Linked DNA regions of Homo sapiens: region 1 is linked to region 2. Evidence: promoter capture Hi-C in 16 types of primary human blood cells and fetal thymus (Javierre and others, 2016). All regions are on one chromosome and are shown on one strand. Each heading gives the region's core, a stretch centred on a gene start or on the middle of the fragment in contact. The rest is flanking DNA. Distances are from core to core; before and after follow the strand shown. Region 1 overlaps RCOR3 (REST corepressor 3). Region 2 holds the start of RD3 (RD3 regulator of GUCY2D).

Region 1 (7,096 bases), core at 3,329-5,828, 170 kb before region 2:
TTACATCTCATACGTGTATTTTTGTTTCCTCACCTCTAGGCACAGACCCCACAGGCTCCTCGGACACTGGGTCCATCACCTCCTGCCCCATCATCCACTCCAACACCAACAGCCCCTATTGCCACTCTGAACCAGCCTCCACCACTTCTTCGTCCAACACTGCCTGCTGCCCCGGCTCTTCACCGGCAGCCTCCTCCACTCCAGCAGCAGGCTCGGTTCATCCAGCCCCGGCCAACTTTAAATCAGCCTCCACCACCTCTTATTCGCCCTGCTAATTCCATGCCACCCCGTCTAAACCCAAGACCGGTGTTGTCCACGGTTGGTGGTCAACAGCCACCATCACTTATTGGAATTCAGACAGATTCACAGTCCTCACTGCACTAAAAATTAAATTGGACACAGCTGCAGTAACTTTTCACCCCATCATTATACCAGTGCTCATCTGACTGATGAAAAAGAGGAAAGAATAATCATTTCTAGATACTGAGGCTGCGAACTAGTTCTGTGGCAGTGGACTAGCATAAGTGGATGTCTAAGAAATTTTTCAGTTCACTAGACTAAAATGTTTTACAACAAAAAGCCTCCAGTTAGCCTCCTTTCTAGAGTATATGTTCAGCAATGTTGATCTCATAAAAGGAAAAACAAAAGATTTAAGTATTCTATATACCAAGTTTTTGTTTTGTTTTTACTGTATTTATTTTATTGAGGTTCTTTATATTCCTGCCTCTTCATAGTCAAGGCTCTTAGTACAGGAATATTGACTTAGGAATTGTGAAAACTCCTTAAGTTTCTTAAGTTAAGGATGTTTGGCTTTTTTCTTTAATTTTTTAAAAACCATTTTCCTATGTTAGGAGTGCAAGAATAGCCAGCATTTCCGATTTTGACATATGTTCATTTTATGCATATTTAAGAAATTATAGCTGCATATCCCTTCTTTCAAAAAATGTTGCTTTTTTTTTTAAAGGAATTTTAATATATTCCTTTAAAAGAAAGCAATTTAATCAATTGCAAAGCAATTATATAAAACCACAAAGAATGTACTGAACCTACTAACCCTTTAACATACAGTTTAGGGTCCTAGCGCAGAGTCCTTGTTTAAAGGTCATTGACTCATCATCTGTCAGTAATGAGAGGATTGGAAGAATAATTTTGCATACAAATGAGGACTTAATTTGTTGAAATATAATCTCTTTAAGTTCCTTGAAAATGGAGTTGGTTTTTTTTGTTTCTAAATGCTATCTGCTTTTAACTAGTAGTTGCCTACATCTGGGGACTTCAGAGAAGAATTATATTTTGTTAGTTAAGTAGACACAGTGGTTATGGAAGCATTTCTTTACAGTACCCTTTACATGTTTGGTTTCTGAACTTAAAATTGCCCTCATACTTAATAATATGGTCTGCATTTAATATGAAAGGTGTTTTATTGATAAATCTATTGTACTATTTGGATACATTTGTGTATTCCTTGCAGCCAACCTGTATTCGTGGGATTGGTGTAGGGTTAAATCATCAACATTATTTCATAAAATAAGAATTTGTTCTGTGTTATCTAAAGATGTATCAGTATATTGTCACAGTTGTGCTGTTAACTAAAAATGCTGAGACCCCTTTTTATAGAAAAACAAAAAGACATCAAGTCTTCTTAATTCAACCCATAATCATTAAGTACTTAACAAAGAATATTTTACAAGTGATAGTATTTCAACAATGTGTAATTAATATTTTTGATACAGTGATTTCATATTGGAATCATTATTTGTGCAAAGGGACAGACAGATCACTTAGATTGCTATACTAGTGGACATAGGCTACATGTTTGCACATTCACATTCTTATCACGTGTAGAATACTTCACAAAATAGTCAACATCTAAGGCCCTAATTTATGTTTTGAAAGATCATGTGTTCCCAAAGTATTCCCTATTGTTGGCTCCACAGCCTTAAAGTGCTATAGATTTAAATTCATTGATTAGTTTTAATTTTTAATTTTAGACTGTGTATTTCCATAAATACCCTACGTACTGGCATATTTGAAACTCTTTTTCCAGGTTAGGTCCTTTTCTTTCTCATTGAATCATCTTAAATAGTTCTTGGCCCTGAATTTAGCTGATTTAAAATTCTTAATATTCAAGAATTTATACTTATTTTTTCCTTAAAAGCCACAGGGGACAGTTAAATATCTTAAAATATCTAAAACATTTTTTAAAGCACTTAGATTGTCTTACGTATGTGCATACTATACCTTTACAGCGTTTATTGTCTTGTCTCTTGTCAGTAGACCTTCAGTACACAGTATGTGGGATATGTCAGTCAAGTTGGTCAGCACCAGCATCTGTCCAGCTGTTCAGTATATTGTGATTCATTAAAAAATCTCTTCTATCCCAGACATGGGCCAAGGTGCTGTATCTGAGGGATGTGCTGTAATTTGATTTACATGCATTAGAGCACACAGTAGAAAAACTTTAGCTTCATTAGTAATATGACACATGTATATAGTGAGATGTCTTTATTGTGTGCTTTGCATATTTTGTAAATATTTTGCACGTCATTATTTTTCTTTTTTGTTTAAGCAGTGTTTGGCCTGGAAGAGTGATATGCTTGCTGCTTAATCAAAGGATTAAAGATTTAAAGATGTCTATGTCTTCTATTTTTATATAATTTCATGTTCTATGAGGAATTTAGTACCTCTTCACTGTGAAATTCGAAATAATGATTTTTATAAAAGCAAAACTAGAAATCTTTTAATGACAATTTTCATTAATTTCAGGGTTATCATTTTTGAGAAATCTACACCAAAGTGGTTTTTTAAAATTACATAACTAAAAATAAACCACACTGTGGATACATCTTATAAAACTAATGGAAACAATGTTTTTCTATATGATTTAATTCTAGTGTAATATGGATGAGGTAAGAGTAAGTTATGATCAAACTTTTTATGTTCTTAATAAGCTTGCAATTGAGTAAAATAGAATATAAAATAAAGGTGAAATAATATAAAATTTTGTCTTAATGTAGGCCTACATTCTTTTTAGGAATAGATGTAGAGAGCAAGCCAAGAACGTGACTATCATTTTTAAGAATATTAAAAATTGCAAGTACAGTCATGCCCTTAACAACGGGGATATGGTCTGAGAAAGGTGCTGTTAGGTGATTCTTTTGTGCTGTGAATCAGATTGTACTTGTACCAACATTGGTGGCAAAGTCTACTACACACCTAGGCTATATGGTATAGCCTTTGCTCCTAGGCAACAGTCCTATGCTGTACAGTAATATACTGTACTGAATATCATAGGCAGTTATAACACAGTGGTAATATCTGTGTATCTAAACATAGAAAAGGTATAGTAAAAATACAATATTTTATATATTTATTTTTTGAGACAGGTTCTCACTCTGTCGCACAGGCTGGAGTGCAGTGGCGGGATCTTGGCTCAGCAACCTTTGCCTCCCAGGCTCAAGCAGTTCTCCTGTCTCAGCCTCCTGAGTGTCTGGGATTACAGGCGCCCGCCACCACACCTGGCTAAGTTTTGTATTTTTTAGTAGAGATGGGGTTCCACCGTGTTGGTCGGGCTGATCTTGAAGTCCTGGTCTCAGGTGATCCACCTGTCTTGGCCTCCCAAAGTGCTGGGATTACAGGTATGAGCCACTGCTTCCTGCTGATGTTATAATTTTAAAGAACATCAGTGTATTTGCAGTCACTGACCGAAATATTGTGTGGTGCATGACTGTACTTGGGTTAAAGTACCTAGTTTAGTTATTAAGTATGTTGTATTAATTTTATGTTCCCTCCTGTTATCAAAAGGTTATTTATGAACATTAATAACTGCTAACTAGTTAACACTGGGGTGTCAGGATCTCCTCAAAAAGAATAGTAATCTGACTTCGAACTCTAAGAAGAATCTATCTTTCTCTTTGTGCATGCCCAAAATAAATGACAAATACATTCTTATTAGAGGACACACAAGAAAAAAAGTGTTTTTAAATTTAGCCATTCATTATAGATTACATCGTTTATAAGAAAATAACAGAATAAATGAATACGGAAAGAACCCAAGAATCAAGTTTGAGAAACCATTCCATATTAGAAAATGCCTACAAGAAACTTTTGACATCTGATTTATGGTAGTACCTGAACTGTTTTCACCTAGGAAAGAGTAGGTCATGTGTAACTCCCCACAACTTCTTTATCATAACTGCCTTAGGGAAGGAATGTTCTGCAGCAGTATATTAGTGACAATGGAGTTTGAGAATTAAACATGACAAGGAATGCTCCTAGATGTGTGAGTTTGTGTCTAAAGGGCCATGTGGCTTTATCTGCCCTTTTTTGCTCTCCTAAGTCTATATAGCTAAGGGAGAAACAGTGAAGATCAGAAGTTAATATTGGGTTGAGATGTTTGCCAATTGTCATTACTTGGTTTAAAGTAGACAATTGTTTATTAATAAACGGAACAGTCTTTACAATGCAGTAATCTAAACTTTAGAATCCTAAAGCAGGAATCTGGGTGAGCAGGGTCTCTAAGGAAAAAATGCTGGTGATGTGAAGTGGAGAGATCTAAGAACAGTCTTCACAATGTAAATGAGGTCAAAGTTGATGTCACAGAATGCTTCATATGTTTCCTTCCCTTGGACTATTTTAAGAAAGGTGAAATTTTTATTCTGTACAATTTAATCTTATTTGTAAGGTACAGTTACCAATAACTAAGAAGATGCTGAATAATACCACAACACAAGGTATCTCTTGAGGGATCTGTCTAGTTTACTACCTGGAACAGCTTTCTTATTTGACAGGATTTGGCTTGAAGAGGCCTTTAATCCAAAGACCATTTTGTTGATATCCTGCCTCTTCATCTTTTCCAAAAGAGTTTGAAAATAATCAGAATCATTGAGGGCTTGTGGCCTATATTTGCAAAATAATTGCCCACCAACCTTTAACACAATGAGTTTTCCAACTCCACTAAGCAAGTTACTTAATCTCTGTGAGCCTCATTTTCCTCATTTGGGGAGGAATATATAAACTGGGGCATATAGTACCTGCCCAATGTATGTTAGAGGTTTTTACATGTCTACTTATACCATACCCTTCTTAATAAGGGAAATGTATTGTGACTTTTTTTTTTTTTTTTGGACAGAGTCTCGTTCTGTCACCCAGGCTGGAGTGCAATGGCGCAATCTCAGCTCATTTTTTTAAAAAAATTAAAGTGCAGTGCAAAAATGAGAGATTAATTTCAGTTCAAGATGACAGACTGGACATAGTCTTTTACTTTTCTTACCCATAATCTCCCCCTGCCAGTCTTACTGAAATGACAAGAAATAGAAAAACCAAAATAACCCTTAGCAGTGCTAGGAAGCCAGAGGAGGAGCTACCAGCAGATGGGGATACATTTATGACAAAAGCCAGCAGAATTAAGGAACCTCTAATGTGACAAAGAGCTGAAGCCAGCCTTTTGCTAACAGCCAGCAAAGAACTCAGGCCTTCAGTTCAACAACCTGCCAGGAACTGAATCCTGCCAACATCCATGTGCACTTGAAAATGGATCCTTCCCCAGTTGGGTCTTGAGATGACCAGAACCCAGCTAACAGCTTGATTGCAGCCTATGACTTGAATAACACACCTTTACCTAGTTGAAATGTGGGATCATTCTACCCAACAGCAGAATAAACATTGTTTCCATGTGCACATGAAATATTGCTCAATATCAGCACTACTGACATTTTAGGTTAGATAATTCTTTTTTGTGCATTTAGAATGTTGAACAGCATCCTCAGCCTCTACCCACCAGATACCAGTAGAACCCCCTTCCCCAGTTTGAGAATCAAAAATGTCTCCAGACATGGTCAAATGTCCCATAAGGAGCAAAATCACCTCCAGTTGAGAATCATTGCAATATATCATATTAATAAAATAAAGGAAAAAAGCCATATGATTATGTTGATAGACACAGAAAAGATATTTGACAAAATCCAACACCTATTCATGATTAAAACTTAGAAAACTAGGAATGCTTCCCCTCAGGATGGAAATCAAGGCAAGGATGTCTGCACTCACAACTCTATTCAGTGGTTTACTGAAGGTTATAGCCAGTGCAATAGGCAAGAAAAAAGTATAGAGATTGGAAAGGAAAAACTAAAATTGTTTTTATGTGCAGATGACATGAAATTGTATGTAAAAAATCCCAAGAAACCTGCAAAAACTAGAATAGTAAGCAAGCTTAAGAAAATCAGAGGATACAAGATCAATGTACAATCAATTGTATTTTCATATAATGGCAACAAGTGATCTGAGAATGGAATTAAGAAAATTTTATTCATGATAGTATCAAAAAATAGGAATAAACAAAAATGTGCAAGACTTGTCCATGAAAAACTATATTGCTGAGAGAAATAAGACCTAAATAACTAACTGTTCATGGATTGGAAGATTGATATTGTTAAAATGGCATTTCTCCTCAAACTGATTTATAGATTCAATCTAATTCTTATAAAAATCCTAGCAGGCTTATTTTGCACAGACTGGCAAACTGATTTTGAAATTTATATGGTAATGCAAAGGACCTAGAACAGGGGCCAGTAAACTTTTTCTATAAATAGCCAAATAGTAAATATATTAGGCTTTGTGGTCCACAAACTGTTGCAACTCCTGGCCTCTACCATTTTAGTTCAAAAACAGCCAGAGAAAATACATAAATGGACAGATATAGCTATGTGTCAATAAAACTTTATTTACAAAAACAGGCAGCAACTCCTAACTTAAAATAGACAAAACAATTTTGAAGAAGAACAAAATTGGGTGATTGGCACTAACTGATTTCCATATTTGTTATAAAGATGCAATAATCAAGATTGTAATATTGGTGTAATGATGGACATATAGATCAATGGAACAAAATAGAGTCCAGAAATAGACTCATCCATATGTGATCAACTAATTTTCAATGAAAGTGTCAGTGTAATTCAATGGCAGAAGTGATAGAATATCTGCATGCAAAAAAAAAAACCTCCAATAAACCTTGATCCTTCCCTCACATCATGCATAAAAATAAACATGAGATGGAACACAGACCTAAATATAAGAACAAAAATGGCCGAGCATGGCG
Region 2 (7,269 bases), core at 3,081-5,580:
CAGGAGGAGTGTGTGACCTGCCTGTCGCTGTGCTAGGTGCTGGGACTCCCTCAAGGAGTGTACACTCAAGAGAGGGGGGAAAACAAGCAGACAAGCAATTGCGATGCCACCAAAGGCACAGCTCTCCTGAGTGGAAAGGGACTCCTGGGCCTCGGCTGTGTAAGCAGTGCAGGGTGTGCCCAGGAAGTGCCTGCCCCTGTTCTCTGCATAACCGCTACTGCTCATTAACCAGCGAGGCCTTGGTTTCTGCATTTATAAAATGGTGTTCAGACACCAGCTCAGCCCACTCCACAGGGCTTCTCTGAGACTCGGGCAGGAGACAATATGTGAAAACATTCAGTAAACTATACAAATCCTGTGCAGTGATCAGGGGTTGTAATTCTTATGAGACACAATCAGGTGGCTAAAAAGTTCACCTGGAGGCCGGGAGCGGTGGCTCACGACTATAATCCCAGCACTTTGGGAGGCCAAGGCAGGCAGATCACTTGAGGCCAGGAATTTGAGACCAGCCTGGCCAATATGGTGAAACCCCATCTCTACTAAAAATACAAAAATTAGCCAGGTGTGGTTGCAGATGCCTGTAATCCCAGCTACTCAGGAGGCTGAGGCATGAGAATTGCTTGAACCCGGGAGGTGGAGGCTGCAGTGAGCCAAGATGGTGCCACTGCACTCCAGCCTAGGCGACAGAACAAGACTCTGTCAAAAAAAAAAAAAAAAACCCACCTGGAAAGAGGTCTTGAAGGCTCTATAGAGAGGAGACAGATGACCAAATGCAATGATGACACAAAACAAGAAGAAAAGAAATGAAAGCCAGCTAGGAACATGGGCTGGGCCCTGCTTGTTAAGACCCCTATCCATCTTGGGGTCCTTAGTAAGAATCTTTGGGCTGCGTTTCCCTCTTTTGTCTGGGAGCCGGGGTGGGGACAGAGTTGCTGCTGTCCATTGACACATACATGCCTTCCGTTCCCTCTCCCCATATTCCCTCCGTGGAGTCTGGGGCCTGGGGTCCAGTACCATCCCCACTCTCACCCCCACTCACCACCTCCACTGCTTTTGACCTCAGATGCATGCTGGGTGGCCTGGCTGCACCCCCACTCCGCCTCTACTTGATCACCAGCTCAGGTGGAGCAGGCTGGGCTTGGGGAGACAGTGCAGCCTTCAGCAGATAAAACCTGAATTCAGTTCCTACGCCCTTCCCCTCCCGTGTATGCTGCCTTTGTCCAAGTCACCTTCATGGCCCCAAGCCTCAGTTTCCCCAATCTATAAGGGAATAATAAAGGTACCTATTTCAAGTTACTGTGAAAATCAAATGAGATTATGTCTTTGTAAATGTTTTATTTTTATAAACTAACAATAAGCTGATTCACCTAGATCAGTGGCTACCATTGTCGCTTAGTACAGATTCTTACCCTTGGGTCCTAGGGAAAATTCAGGGATTTATGAACTTGGGTGGGGAAAAAAGTCATCTTTATTTCCACTAACCTTTAACTGAAATGTGGTATTTCTTTAGTTATGAATGAGGGTCATAGACCACAGTAATATCAGTAGCCCCATGGCTTTATCTCCAGCAGAAACCACAGATTTTTCACAAAATGCTTTAAAGTTGTTATTCTTGAATTATCTGGTATGCTCATCACTACTATGAAATTGTGGCATTTATTAGACTTGCTACTAGGTTTTATTATTTCACATGTTGATAGGGAAGCACACATATTATTATATCATAAATCATTTTTTCTTTCTTTTTTTTTTTTTTGATAGCTGCATTTCAATAGAGCTTGTTTCCTTTGTACCCCAGTGAATTTACTTTTATGCATTTAGAAGCATTTTTCTAGGAACGTGTCCACAGGCTTCACAGACTCCCAAAGGGGGCACAAAAATAAAGGATCCCCTGGCTTGGTGCAAGCTTGACCCCAACTTTGTTCCTGGCCTTCCCCAGCCCTGGCTTCTGGTCACCGTGTTGGGAGAGCTGAGCCTCCCTGTTTCAAGAGAAGGCCCAGGTGGTGAGGCCTCAGGTTTACAGAGCAGAGTGGATGATGGGGAAGCCCTCGCACGTTCTGTCTCTGCCTTTTGGTGTCACTCACCCACGCCCGTTATCTTCCATTCTCTGATCTTCTCTTTCCTCTTTCCTTTCTCCTTCATTACCCCTTCCACCCCCACACTCTCAGAGCCTTCCTTTCAGCCTATTTTTGAACATCCCTGAGGATAATGTCTTTTCTGTGGCTCCTGGGAGGCGCCACTACCAGCTGTGGCTCGTTAGCTGTGCTGGAAAAACTCTCGCGTTGTGCCTCAAGGGCAAGAGGAGTCTCTGGTTCCACTTGGCACTCAGAGGGGGACCAGGGATGTCTCAATGGTGGGAACAATGGGGAGTGTGACCTTGGAGCTGGAAGCAGGGCTCTGACCCCCTGCAGGAGGGATGAGAGTGCCCTCACCTCTAGTGAGAACTGAGGCCCTGCGCCGGCCCCAGCCAAACAGTGAGGGCGTGCAGACCTTGCCCAGGAAGGCCAATTTCTCAGTGCAAAGGGAGCCATGGCCAGGGAACCCGGCCCGGGTCCTCCACCTCTGAAGCTGAGCTAGGCATCTGCAGGCCAGGGTGAGGGGCTGCCCTGTGTGACCCGCCGGACCCAGGCATAGAGCAGCACCTGAGTCAGGCTGTCCCAGAGCACTGGCAGCTTCACTGCAGGGGCAGGCTGGCTCTGCTGACGCCAGACGCTCAGTCTGGGCAGAGACTTCTCAGTGGGGGCAGAGAGTAGGTGCTTCTCTGGCTAATCTGCCTCCCAGCTCTGTGTTTGATAAGGCCCAAGTCCAACTTTACAGATTGCAAATTGACCTTATTTCTCTTTGGCATCACAGAAAAACAACCTATAATCCACCAAGCCAGATATGAGCGGGCCTGACCTGTGGATCCTCTGCCCACCTGACAGACATCTGCTCATTTGTCGGGAACCCCTCAAGAGACAACTCCTCCCTGCAGCCGGCCCCTCACTTCCCCCCACCCATGGAGCACTGATCCCAGCCACCAGGGCCTGACACAAGGGCCCATCACCATGGCATCTAGCAAACACGTTTCTCACGCTTTGGGTTGTATTTATCTCTTCCCCACCTAGCTATGAATTCTGCAAGGGCGAGAGGAATGTGGGTTGAATCTGCTGCACATGGTAGCACTTGATAAGCGGTTCCTGAATGAATGAGTGAATGGCAGCCAGTCCTTCCCATTCTGAGGCAGAGGTGCAGCCAGGAGAGGGCGTGTACACAGGTCTGACTGACCACAGTGGGAGGGGACTGACCCTCATCCCTTGGTCGCAGCTGGACTTTCCTTCTAGGCCCGATCTCCCTGGCGCCCCACCCTGCACCCATCTGCCTGGGCCCACTCTCCTGGGCATGTTATCAGGGATGCACAGACTGCTCCATGTTCGAGGGGACTGAGGCACATCCATCACCCTCGTGCCCTGGGTGCTGCTGCATCCCCAGAGCCTGACTCTGTGCCTTGGACTTAGTAGATGCTCGAATCACAGTTCGCAAACCCATGCAAGAGTCTCTGATTTGGGTTTCGCTTTCCTTCCCCCTGCCTGTGTCCACTCTATAAAGGCAGAAAGGAACCTGCTGGAGCTGGGTCCTCCCCGAGAGGCTTGCAGTTCCAGAACAGGCAAAAACAATGGCTTCCCACAGGTTTACAAAACAAGGAGCAGGCTATAGCCCCGAGGAAGCTGCAGGACCCTCATCGGTTCCAACTCCTGTGGAACTGATGAGGACTAAAGGGGCCTTCCTGTGGCCATCTGGGTCCCGGAGGTGGGCGGCTTTCTAGGCTCCCCAGCCTGCCACACCCCTTGAGGCCACCCCACCCAGCTTCAAGCCTCAGCCCTAACTTCCAAAGGTGCAGCTGTGCCAGGGTGCGGGTGGGGAAGACACTGTCTCCTGGGGAGACCTCCATCTTACCTCTGAGGTCAGCCTCTGCTCAGGTGCAGCGTCACAGCAGGGGGCCTGCGTTCTGCTTCCCAGTCTGGGAGAAGAGAGTGTCTGGATATTTTCAGGAAAAAAAAAGAAAGTTGAGCAGCCACAGCAGGGCAGGGCAGTCTACATCCTCAAGTCTCCCTCAGCTTCTCTGCTGCTGCCGGCTGGCCTCAAATTTTGCCTCTCTTTGGTTCTCTGAGAAGTTTTACCAAGAGAAGAGACAGGAGGAGAGATCCAGCCTGGACTATTGTTTGTGGGGTGTGTAGGTGTGTGTGTGTGTGTGTGTGTGTGTGTGTGTGTGTGTGTGTGTATGCGTGTATGTATCCCGCGAGGCTGGAGCCACAGCTTCCCTGATGAACCATGGAGGCGGGCCAGCTCCTGAGCTGCGGTTGCCCTGGAGACCCACCTAAGCCTCTTTGCCTGGAGCAGCATTATCTGTAGAGGGAGTGGCTGATCTGACACAAAAGCCTGAGGCGACCCAGGCCCAGGCAGTGAGGGAGCACTTGTGTCCAGATGGCATTCTGTCCGCTTCCTCCTCCAGCCGGTGCTCAGTGTGGCACAAACTGGGCAAGACCATTCTCACCCAACCCTCTGCTGAGCCCTAGGTGTACCTGCTGTTGGCAAATGTTTCCAGCTGCCTGGTGGGTGGCTCCTGGATGGAGATCCCCTCTTTCTATCAGCTCCCTCCTACAGGGAAGGGGTGATTCTGGGTGCTGAGGACAGGGACCTGTGAAGATACATCTCCGCCTTTGCCCCACCACATCCCTTGCCTGTCTTCCTCTCTGCTTATCTAAATTATTTCCTTCCCTCAAGGCAAGCTCAAGAGCAGACAGTTCTGACTTTCAGAAGGAGGGGCTGTCCAGGGAGAAGAGGAACATGGAACAGAAAGCATTGACGTTGAGGTATTTGAGATAACATTTGGGGATAGCAGAAGCATCCTGTTGCTGTTCTGCAGCATCCCACACTCATGTCTGGGCCTCCTTCCTGTCTCTGCTCTCTGGTCACGCTGTCACTTGTAGACTGTTCTGCCTAGAAGCCATGTGTGGGCCAGCTTGCACCTAACAGACATTAGGTAGCACTAAAACAGATGCACACTGCCCTGTGAGGGGCATGGGAATACTGTAATGGGCATGAAGCTGCATTATAATAGATCTTAGGTAATCCTGTGCTGGGTGATAGCGTGACTTTTGCACACATCTGGTTTTGATTGTGTTGGAAATAAAGCAGAAAGTACAACCAAGAATAAATTAAACAATGGCTGATGAAATGGACTCAGGTTGCCCACCTGCCTGCCTGCATGATTTCGTCCCTGGGTGATTTGTCACTTCGTGCTTGCTCTGTGGCTGGTTCCACTCAGCTGGTTCCATCCGCCTTCCCTCTTCATCCATCAAGCAGGCAAGATTCTTGAGTCAGGAGTTGGATCATATACTTCTCTTGACCAGTTCACAGCACGACAGCCCCAAAGATTGAGTGGGTCACTTGGGGATGGAAGATCCCCACATTTGAGGGAGCTGAAGCTGACTTCCTCTGACCCACAGTTCCCAGGCGGCCTCCACCTCAGGGCCAGCTAAGGCCAGAGTCACCCAAAGCAGGTAACTGGGAGTCCCCACCTCTGAGCACCCCACCACTATCCTGGCACTTTCCCAAGGGGCGTGGCTTGGAGGTCCAAGGGCAGAAATTCCCAGGCATTTCCACACTGTAGGGAAGGGAGCAGGGGGATGACAAGACTTTACCTTCCCTTTAGGAAAGTTGCTGGAGGCAATGAGGAGAGGAGGGCATGGACTAAGTCACATGCTCATCTGTGCAGCACGTATTTCTAAAGCACCATTCTACAGGGGCACCAAGCTAGGAGCTGGCTGAGCCTGGCTCTCCTCTCTGCACACATCCCAGCCAAGCCTGTGTGTGCTGGATTGCTGGATCAGATGAGGAGGAGGTGGAAGTCTGGCAGGCAGGTGGGGAGCAGGGACAGCATTAGGGCCCAGAGTTAAAGACTTTTATCTCCAAGTAGTACAACCTTGGGTCTGCTACTGACCATTCTGTGTTTGAATAAAAACAATTCATCCCTTTTCTATAGCCATGCTTTTGTATTAATATCTCCCCTTCTAATGCACACACAATGAATGTAAATGAGATCATAGAGGCCAATGTCTTGAGCCATCAGAAAGATTTTGTCGCAGCAGCTGCCAGATGAGCTTCAGGACTCCTGACCCTGGGATGCCAGGGAACAAGCACACAGACGACTTATAGCAGTCTCCCTGGCAGACGCAGCTGGCCCCTCTCCTGCATTTTTCAAATGGTGCCTGTGATTAGAAGAGGGAGGCACTCCCTAACCCACGACCCTCCCTGACAGCTGCCTTGATACCGTAACTCACAGGCCTTGGTGGGTGTGTTGACTCCTCATTTATTCTGATTTGTTCACCTGTGGAGGATTTGTGATTATCCTTGCTGAGTGTGAATTTGCTCTGGGGAGAAAAGGTGGCGGTTGTTTTTCTCTTGTTTGGCGTGGATGGAAGTTGCTGAAGCATAGATATTCAGCAACCATCAAATGCAGAAACACCGGTGGGGCCCGCAACATTGCCTCATAGATGGCATTTGATTAATAAATTGGAAATGTGGAGTTATGAGGCGATTACATGCAAGGCTGGATTAAAATCCGCATGGAGATTAGAGATAAGCCCCGGCTCTGCGTGTGTGTGTGTGTGTGTGTGTGTGTGTGTGCACGCGCGCGCTCCGTTCTCTCCTCCCTGGAGTCTTTCCAGGCTATTTCAAACCATTTCTAACCACTCAGTCATGCGTTGGGTTTTCCAAATCCTGCAGAAGGTCTGTGTAGCCCTAATCCCAAAGAAGTTGAATTAAATGGACAGAATATTCATAGGTACAGACCAGATTTGCAGTTACTTAGACCTCTTCTCTCTGGGCATCCCTCTTTCTATTCCTGTGGTCACATTTCCTCTCCAGGTGCTACGGACTGAATGTTGTGTCCTCCCCAAAATTCAATCTTGAATCTCCCAAGGTGATGGTTAGGAGGTGGGACCTTTCGGATGTGATTAGGTCGTAAGAGGGGAGCCCTCAGGAATGAGATTACTGCCCTTGTGAAATGGTCTCAGGGAGCTTTTTGGCCCTTCTACCACGTGAGGACACTGTGAGAAGATGCCTCCATCAACTAGGAAGTGGGCTTTCAGCAGACACTGAATCTACTGGCACCTTGATCTTGGACTTCCCAGCCTCCAGAGCTGTGAGAAATAAATTTCTGTCATTTATAAGTCACCAGTTTATGGTATTCTGTAATAGAAGCCTGAATGGACTCAGACATCAGGT

Evidence for each region. The method cuts DNA at HindIII sites, captures the fragments that hold promoters and counts their contacts. A CHiCAGO score of 5 or more calls a contact.
Region 1: a fragment that was not itself captured here is called in contact with the fragment with the promoter of RD3 in region 2 in 6 of 17 cell types (naive CD4 T cells, M2 macrophages, M1 macrophages and 3 more); the score reaches 7.4 in naive CD4 T cells.

The regions. Positions count from the first base shown.
Region 1 is chr1:211,313,385-211,320,480 of GRCh38, forward strand. It overlaps RCOR3 (REST corepressor 3), which reads left to right. Exons shown (of 12, transcript NM_001136223.3): 12 at 40-3,001. The coding sequence ends at 384. Among named protein-coding and RNA genes, the nearest start is that of TRAF5, 9.9 kb to the right of the region's middle. The HindIII fragment of the contact is 3,259 bases long and covers 2,950-6,208 here.
Region 2 is chr1:211,487,832-211,495,100 of GRCh38, forward strand. RD3 (RD3 regulator of GUCY2D) reads right to left here and starts at 4,331. Exons shown (of 3, transcript NM_001164688.2): 1 at 3,937-4,331. The HindIII fragment of the contact is 10,925 bases long and covers 1,905-7,269 here.